Linked DNA regions of Homo sapiens: region 2 is linked to region 1. The links are contacts of gene promoters, found by promoter capture Hi-C in blood cells and fetal thymus (Javierre and others, 2016). All regions are on one chromosome and are shown on one strand. The core of a region is centred on a gene start or on the middle of the fragment in contact, and the rest is flanking DNA. Distances in the headings are between cores, read along the strand shown. Region 1 holds the start of YTHDC2 (YTH N6-methyladenosine RNA binding protein C2). Region 2 has its middle 5.6 kb from the start of TRIM36.

Region 1 (4,222 bases), core at 949-3,448:
GCGCCTCACCTGCCTAGGCACACCACACTACCTTCTTTCCTGAGCTGCCTCTCTGGCCTTCCCTTGGGAAAGTAGCACAGGCCATTCTGTTCCAGGATCTCCCACACCATTCAGGGTTTTTGTTTTGTTCTCCCCAAGAGAAGCAGGGCTCAGGATCCTTTTTGGCAACTTACTGGTGTATTACTATGTGACTTTTTCCAGTTCCAGAGAACCGAAACCAACTTAAGACAATATTTCCCCAAATAATAACCCCTAAATGACCTGGCTGAACAAGAGAGAAAGGGATGGAGGGCTGGCAAAGTAGGGGTGATGAGGGGGCAAAGGGTGGGAGGAAATATCCCTAGCATCAATAATAAAATCATGTTGGTTATATTTTAAGACTTTATTACTCTACCAGGTCAATTTTATAGATGAGAAGAGAGCAGTCTCCAGACCACTGTGCTGTGGCATGCTCGTATGCCACAAGTTGTTTACAGGCATATCAAGATGTTGATGACCCCAGTTCTTAGGCAACTGGGTACAAACTGGAACGGGTGAAGCTAGTTCTTTCAGCCTAGTCACTTATGCCCAAGATCAGCCTTATCATTGTACAAATATATTAGTCAGAATAAGCTAACTCTTTGTATCAGTTATCTACTGCTGTGTAAGAAACCCAACCTAAAACTTAGTGGCTTACAGCAATATTCATTTTATTTGTTTATGTGTTCTGTGGGTCAACAGTTTGGACTATGTTTAGCTAGGTGGTTTTGCTAATCTTGCTTTGGGTTGCTTACAGAGTTGTGGTCATCCAGCAGCTTTTCTAAGACTAGACTTTCCATTATGGCCTTTTTCACGTCTTGCCCTTGGTGCTGGTGGATGATTGGGCCATAGTTGTCAGTGGGCTAGCCTAAGCTTCTTTACTTTGTGGAAGAAGAATTCTCAGCAGCAAAACAGGCTAAGCCTTAATGCACAAACACCTTTCAAGCCCCTGCTTATCTCGTATTTGCTGATGTCCCAATGGCCAAAGCAAGTTACATAGCCAAAGACAGAGTCCATGTGGGAAGGAAGAATACAAGGGTGTGAACAGAGGAATGTGTGATTCATCAAAGGCCATACCTTTGATGAATTCAACAATTTACCATAATGTTACAAAAAAAAATCTTCCCAAATCTCAGCAGTTTACCACAACTAAGAATTATTTCTTACCCATGTCATATTCCAATGTGGGTTGGTGAGGACACTCTATCACACTCGTTCAGGGAATCGGGAACCTGTTATCTATCTAGTGGTTCCACCGTTGTCTAAGAACTTCCAGAAGACCAGGAAAGACAGAGAAGGGAAGATTCAAGGAAGGTGTTATAGACCAATCCTGGAAGTGGTATACATCAGTTCCAGCAACATTCCAATGGCCGGAACTCAGCCATGTGGCCCCCAGCTAACTGCAGGAGAGTTGGGAAATATAATGCCTAGGAAGAAAAGATACTTCTTGTCACCAAATATTCCGCCCCCTTCTTACCACACACAGAATACACATATACCCTCCCCAGACACCTGGAATTCTATCTAGTCACTGCATCCAGGATCTGTTGTTGATACACAGTCCTCTTTATTAGATCCAGATGTATATCCTCATTGCCAGGTAACTCATGAACTATGTAAATATGTACTACATACCTGCCCCCACTCAGCTACCCTGTGTAGCGTGATAGAGCAAGGGTGGCATACTTGCATTAAAATCTCCCATTCAGAAAAGGGAAGAATGCAAGACACACAACAGTGGCTCATTCTTTAGTATATGTATTTTTTATGATATTTTTCCAAATATTGCATGGGAAATATATACACTAAAAATTATTCGTTTATCTGAAATGCAAATTATTAAGCATTCTGTATTTTTATTTGCTAAATCTGGCAACCCTCCTCCCACTAAAATATAAACTCCATGAAGGTAGGAACCTTGGCTCTCTGGTTCTCCAATGTACATCGAAGGCGTGGCATAATGCCAGGTCCACAGTAGAAGCCCATACATGCTTACTGCAGGAATTAATGAAGGACTAAACGAAGTAGCAAGTGAGTGAATAAGAAGATGAGGAGCGACCCTTGGTGGGCGGCGCGGGAAGAGAACCGCACCATAGCTCCGCAGACAGCCTCCTTTAGGCGCGCAGCGGCGGCCGCGCTGAGGTCACGGGCGCCGGCCCTGGTGACGTCATTACGCCCGCGCTCCTCGCCTGGCCGTGATATCAATGGCGCAGGCTTCACTTCTGCTGTGGCGGTGACTGAGGCCTTTCTGGTGACCTCAGCCCAACACAGGCCGTCTCCGGAGCTTCCCGGTAGTGGCCCCGGATTCCCACGGTCTTTGTCATTGGCTGTCAGCTAGCAGGCCTGGCCGCTCCCGTGCGGAGAGACCATCTCTTCAGGGCAATGTCCAGGCCGAGCAGCGTCTCCCCGCGGCAGCCGGCTCCTGGCGGTGGCGGAGGCGGCGGCCCCTCGCCTTGTGGCCCTGGGGGCGGCGGCCGGGCCAAGGGGCTGAAGGACATTCGCATTGATGAGGAGGTGAAGATCGCAGTCAATATCGCGCTGGAGCGCTTCCGATACGGGGACCAGAGAGGTGAGGTTCCGGACAGGGACCATGCTGGCAGTCAGGATACCCCCCTCACCCCAGCGCCCCCCAAACGGCGGCCCACCGAGTGATGGGGGTGCCTCCGAAGAGGGAGGGAAGACCCGGGCCACCGTCCGGGGCGGGCCTCAGCGGCGGCACCCGGGTCTGGAACGCGGCTGTTGGCCCTGCGGTGGAATGCGAGGTGCTCTGCGGATCAATGGGGTTATGGGCACTTTGCTCCCTAGCTGAAAGTGTTTTTCCCCCGCGTCTTTCAGCAGCCTTGGGCGGTTAAGCCACCGTGTTTCAGATATTGGTTAGCCCTAACCCTTTTTAAGGGGGTGTCACCTAATTGTGGCACGTTTAAGCTACAGATGTAGAAGAGCAGAAAGAAATCAAACATATAAATAAATGCACCAGCAATACGTTTGGACCCTGAAGCATCACGCTACCCACTTAAATTAAACTTGTTTGGCACACGAAGCATCTTCCACACCTCTTGAGGTTAGATAGCCACTTGTCTTGGGTCATATAATGCAGAACCAGCAACTGACCTGCGGTGACCTGTGCAGTCTGTTGAGGGCTCATTCGGACCTGCTGGCTTAGTTAGGGGACCTCTTACTCTGGAATCTTATAGTCCAAAACGGGGAATGTTCTAGACAGAGAGATTCTAAATTCACATTAAAAAAAGAGAAAGCCTCAGCAATATATAACAAATCCCTCTGAAATAGTGAAATACGAATTCTGTACAGTTTTGAAAGCAAAGACAATGGAGTTTCATGTTGAGAATTCATAATATTTGAACATATCTCATCATTGAAGAAAATAAACATTTTGTTAACTAAACAAGTAGGGACCAAGTTAAATATGTTCAGTCATTATACCAACTCAAAATTCCAGAACAAGTAAGAGGAGTCGTTTTTGGTGAATATCAGAGGCCTTTATCACATTTAGGTTTAATACATAGCTGTCTTTTTATTAATATCAGAATTCTGATAGACATTCAGTAGTTATTGAATTAATAAAATATCTTAATTTTATTAATTTACATAAATAGAATATGAAATATAAAGTTAACCTCAAATAAAGTATAATAAATTTGATTGTCTATGTATGTTTTTCATATTTTGTATCTGTGTGTTTTACTTGAGAGAAAATTGCCTATCTACAAATTTTACTACTTTGTTTTTTTTCCGTGTAGAAATGGAATTTCCTTCTTCTTTGACCAGTACTGAAAGAGCCTTTATTCATCGACTCAGTCAGTCTCTTGGTTTGGTCTCTAAAAGTAAAGGGTAAGCTGGTAGCTTTTCTTATTTTTTTTAAAAAAGATTATTTGCCCAAAAAAGGGAGAAACGTTTCTGAGTACATTTAAGTACTTATTACTGTTTTAACTTCACATTCTTAATTGTATCATATGTAGATAAAAGATTCAGGTCTGTACCAAATTCAACTCTTTCCTCTTCCCTCTGTCTACCTCTTCCCCCCTTTTTTGTTTTGTTTTGTTTTTCCCTAGGAAAATGCTTTTTCTTCTACCCAGCTTAGGTTCCTTGGCTGGGACCCTGCAAATTAGACTGATAAAAGACATATTAACAAGAGAAAAACATAAGCTTATTAAGACATGCATCATGCATACATAGGGGAGAACTC
Region 2 (4,746 bases), core at 1,806-4,305, 1.7 Mb after region 1:
TTCCCAGTTCCTCAAGTTAAAATCCTGGTGGGTTTTGTTTGCTTGCTTTTTATCTTCCTTTCTTCTTCCCTGTCTATCTCTGATCAGCCTTAAATCATAGTTTGTTACCAGATTCTGTTCTTTCTCATCCTCACAGCTGATTCCTGTGCCCACTCTAAGCCCCCTCTCCGCATGCCTAGATTACAACAGTAGCCTATAAGTTGAGTATTTACAGATGATTTTCCATATGTGTAGCCCTGTCCTCATGCCTCTATTTGCACAAGGAGCAGAATAAGCTACAGTCCTGGACCACAGGCAGCTTGGTATTGGAACATAAGGGGGTGGGGGGTGTGTGGACATGTGTATTTGAATGTGTGTGTGTGTGTGTGTGTGCGCGCACGCATGTGTTGAAGAGCAGGAGTTAGAGGGTGGTAAACCTGTGGTAACAAAATAAGTCTGGTAAAGTATGGAAGGCCTCTATGCTTTTGTAGATGTTGAGCAGCTTTTGAAGGCTTTTTAGCAGGAATGGCATGAAATATCTGAACTTTAAAAAAATCATTATTCCCCTATTTTACATTGTATATGCTGTCCCTTGGTGCCTATTCCTCCGCAGTTTGGAGTATCCTAGCACCTCCTTTTTCAATAGTTTATTTTAAAATCTGGGTTAAAATGCAAAACAAGAAAACCTATCCTATTCTTATCCCCCTAAGTCCACAGACCTTCAATACTCTTGCCTTCATTGTGATATCTACTTTTCTACTTCTGGTATTACTTAATTGCTCTTCTATCACAGGGGCATGAGCTCTCTCACATCCATCTACTTCATGAAGTCCAAAAGGTCAAGATTCCCCTCTCCAAACACACACAATTCAGGCTTTGATAAAACAGAGCCTCAATCAATGTTCATTGCTTGATATTTAAAATATAAACCCCTTACCCTATAAATCATATACTACTCCATAAGCTGACTTGGTCTTTTTCCATATTGATTCCTAATACCCAACAAGAGATTAAATTCATGGCTGGGTCAAGTCCTAATGACCATGGTGCATATTAATTGGTTTGCTCTGAGATCAGACAGGCAGGGTACCACCATTCTATTGGTATATACTAAACAAGAAATAGAAACAAGGTAATATGGCCACATATTCCCTAAACTCTGCCCCCTTTTGGGAACCCCTAATAATTAAGCAGCCATAGGTATAAAATCAAGAGAGCACCTGGACTTACAGAAAATAAAAAGTACAGAAATAAAGTAAATTACAGGGTTTTCCAGTAGATTGGCACACGGACCACCTATACTGCTGGGTATCAGGAGGTTACCAGTAAAGGGATAATGAATGGTATTGTCTATCAATTATTGACTCAAGCTACTGACAGGCCAAGCTTACCAGTCATAAAGTGTTTCTATGGGAACAAAGTCAGGGGAGAGGAGTCCAGAGAGCCAGCAAGTTCAGATTTCCACTACCTGGCCAAATCCTCCTCATCTTTCAAGTTGCACTTCTGGAGCCTCCTTTATTAGTTTTGATTTCATTGATTATCTCCCTCTATTCTGAATTCTTTTAGCACTCAGTTTAACACAAATACCTAGTCTTTGTACACTGATGTTTGATGTTTTGTCTTCTCGACCATTTAAGCTTTTATTTAAGACAAAATCTAGTAAGCATTTATCTACTAAACAGTAGCACCAGAGCAACAATTTGCTATTAGGAAGATGAGAGGAACCCAGTGCTGCTCTCACGGACATTTTTCCATTAATGATGAGTGTATTAGCTGCATAACTAGTGGGCAAAGAAGTTTTCTGGCCAACTTGAGGTAAACAAAACTGGTAATATTTTGAGGCAATCTAGCAGGTCCCTCTCTGTTGACCACATCTTATTATTCTTCCCTGTAGGGTTACTAGATTTAGTAAATAAGAACACAATACACCCAGTTAAATTGGAATTTCAGATACATGATAATTTTTTAGTATATGTTCCAAATATCACATTGCACATATTCTAAAAAAAAAAAAAGTATTTATCTCAAATTCAAATTCAAGTCTACATCCTGTATTTTATCTGTCAGCCCTACCTCCACTTCTTAATGATCACAATGTGGATATAAGGTGTCTCAAGGCCCAACCCTGTTGTCATAAAAGCTAGAAGTAATAGCTTTCATTTATTGAGGGCCTATGATGTGTCGATAACAGTATTAGGAAACCTGCATAAAAGATTCATTTAACCCTTGCAGTAACCCTGTGAAATAGGTATAATTCTTTTCAGAGAAGACATGTAACAACTAAAATTCCTCTCCACCTCCGCCCATAGATTAAGTAATATGCTTAATCTATGGGCTATATACTACATGGCCATATACTAAAAAGCCAGGATTCAAACCTGGGTCTCAGTCCAGCATCCTTATTGCACTGCCCACAGGTGAGTATACAACACAGAATTTACAATTTCACTAAAAATCTGATTTAAACATCCTTTTACAAAGTAGTTTAGGAGACACCTTTTTTTTTCAAATTATCTTTAGCGCAATATAGTAAAAAAAAATAAGAGGAAAATTATATTTATGAAAGTAGCTCTTTTCAAATGATATTACAAAAATCTAAATCTTCTGCCTGCCTTCCCTACTCCCCACAGCACATACATTTCACCCAATTTCAATACATATATTTAAAAAACCTTTAAAAAATACTTTGTAGGCCGGATGCGGTGGCTCACCCCTGTAATCCCAGCACTTTGGGAGGCTAAGGCAGGTAGATCACTTGAGGTCAGGAGTTCGAGACCAGCCTGGCCAACATGGCGAAACCCTGTCTCTACTAATAATACAAAAAATTAGCCGGGCATGGTGGCGTGTGCCTGTAGTCCCAGCTACTAGGGAGGCTGAGGTAGGAGAATCGCTTGAACCCAGAAGTGAAGGTTGCAGTGAGCCTGAGATTGCACCACTGCACGCCAGCCTGGGCAACAGAGTAAAACTGTGTCTCAAAAAAAAATAAAAATAAAAATAAAAATACTTATGCAGTGGGCACAACCTTACCATTATCACCCCAGTTTAGATTTTAGTTGTGTGAGCAACTATCTATTCGTCCTTCTGAAAGAGATCATTTGGTGGTATTTTTGTTTTGGTCCCAGGAGATGTTTAAGACCTTTTATTAGTCTAGATTTGAGGACTTTCCAAGACTAATTCTTTCAGAGTGTAAGTGTCTTCTTTTTTTAAGGTAAAGTTTGTGTTTGTAAAAATTCTTGAATTTTTTGTGCCTCAAAGATGTTCAAAGTTAAAATAATTCACCAAGTAATGGTATCATTGCCTATTTCAGTATCAAAATTAAATATAAGATTTACAAAGCCTCTCTTATTTTGCTGAAACCATTATGCTCTTAGATGTGCCTGAACAGTAAATATTAAATTATGGGAACCGAATGTACCTTCTGGCTATTTACACATAAATGTAAATATGCTAAATACACAAAATACAAAGAGATATACTAAAATTTGAATTCTATATTCCTTGTCATCAAATCTTCATTATATGATTCCAGAAGCGGTGATAAAAAAATTAGTGAGGCAAATCTTACAAGAGACCAAAACAGTTGGAAAATACTGCTTTGAGTAACCTTAGATATTGACCACAGATTTGGAAACCTCTCTTTTAATCCAAAGAGATTAGCTGCAAAAGAAGCGAAAAGACAGCTTTCAGAAATGGTAAAAGTTTCACTGCTAGTGAAATGTAAGGAAATACATTTTCATTTTTAAGCCTCTTGAGAATGATCGTAAGTATTAACTACACTTATGCAGTATTGTTTGATGAGCAGAAAGGTCACAATGGCAGATATCACTGTGTACTTTAAATATTAAAGTAGCCATCACAATAGAGTAAATAAGCTGATCCAGTTTGTCCTGTAGGTTTTAGGTTACCCTAAGAAAAAAGGCTTACTTCCCACATTTCAGAGAACATACGGTATGCTAATTTAATTTGAAATAGACACACAAACTGCTGCCACTGGGGAAGGAATGAGATTGGAGGTGGGCATGAACTTAGACTTTTTACTCTGTGAACCTTTCTGTGAAGTTTGAATACTTTACAACAAGCATATATTCCAGGTATTAAGTTTGTAAAAATGTAAAGCTATGTATTTTTAATTATGTACAGAGCTTGAGAAGTCCAGTACAAGGATGAAACAAATCTGGGGGAAAAGTGAGAGAAATTAAGAGGATGGTTAACTCAGTGGTCTCAACTTTGAGGGATGGTGGGGCGGAGGGCAGGCCAACTACAGGCCTCTACTCTCTTAACTCTCATAATTAGACCAGTTTCCCATTATTCTTTACATTACAAACCCGAACTACAAAGTGGAACCGAACCCCACAGAGGAAAATAAAGCAAGTCAGTCTCAAAGGTCTGCTATTCCATGGTTAATATTCAGTGTTCAAATCCTGTATAATCACACACAAAACAGGGGTCTTAAATGGGCTAGTGCTGGGGCTGCGGGGCGGGGCAGGATTTGAGCCTGAGGAGAGTGGTAGGAAATAAGCTTACGTTGAAATGGTTAGGAGCCTACTCCAGACCAACTCTCCCCCTCCAACCCCCACAAAACAGAGAGAGGAATTGTCCTAAGTTCTTCTTGGGAGAGACTGCTTTCCAACCTCAGAGATTTCAAAGGGACAGCGGGCCTCTCCACCTTTAGAAGTCAACCGGGAATGCTCATGGGTTTGCTGCAGGCCCATTGCTGAAGCCTAGTGAAGAGAGAGACAGAGAGAGAGAGAGCAGAGAAATCCAGTA

What was found. The method cuts DNA at HindIII sites, captures the fragments that hold promoters and counts their contacts. A CHiCAGO score of 5 or more calls a contact.
Region 2: a fragment that was not itself captured here is called in contact with the fragment with the promoter of YTHDC2 in region 1 in 1 of 17 cell types (fetal thymus); the score reaches 5.4 in fetal thymus.

Annotation. Positions count from the first base shown.
Region 1 is chr5:113,511,496-113,515,717 of GRCh38, forward strand. It overlaps YTHDC2 (YTH N6-methyladenosine RNA binding protein C2), which reads left to right and starts at 2,199. Exons shown (of 30, transcript NM_022828.5): 1 at 2,199-2,587; 2 at 3,777-3,867. The coding sequence starts at 2,401. It overlaps LOC124901046 (a long non-coding RNA gene), which reads right to left and starts at 2,163. Exons shown (of 2, transcript XR_007058905.1): 1 at 1,936-2,163; 2 at 364-1,445. RefSeq lists enhancers at 1,955-2,004, 2,001-2,502 and a silencer at 2,455-2,684. The HindIII fragment of the contact is 3,291 bases long and covers 890-4,180 here.
Region 2 is chr5:115,173,173-115,177,918 of GRCh38, forward strand. It overlaps a transcript of TRIM36 not described here. Among named protein-coding and RNA genes, the nearest start is that of TRIM36, 5.6 kb to the left of the region's middle. The HindIII fragment of the contact is 2,882 bases long and covers 1,615-4,496 here.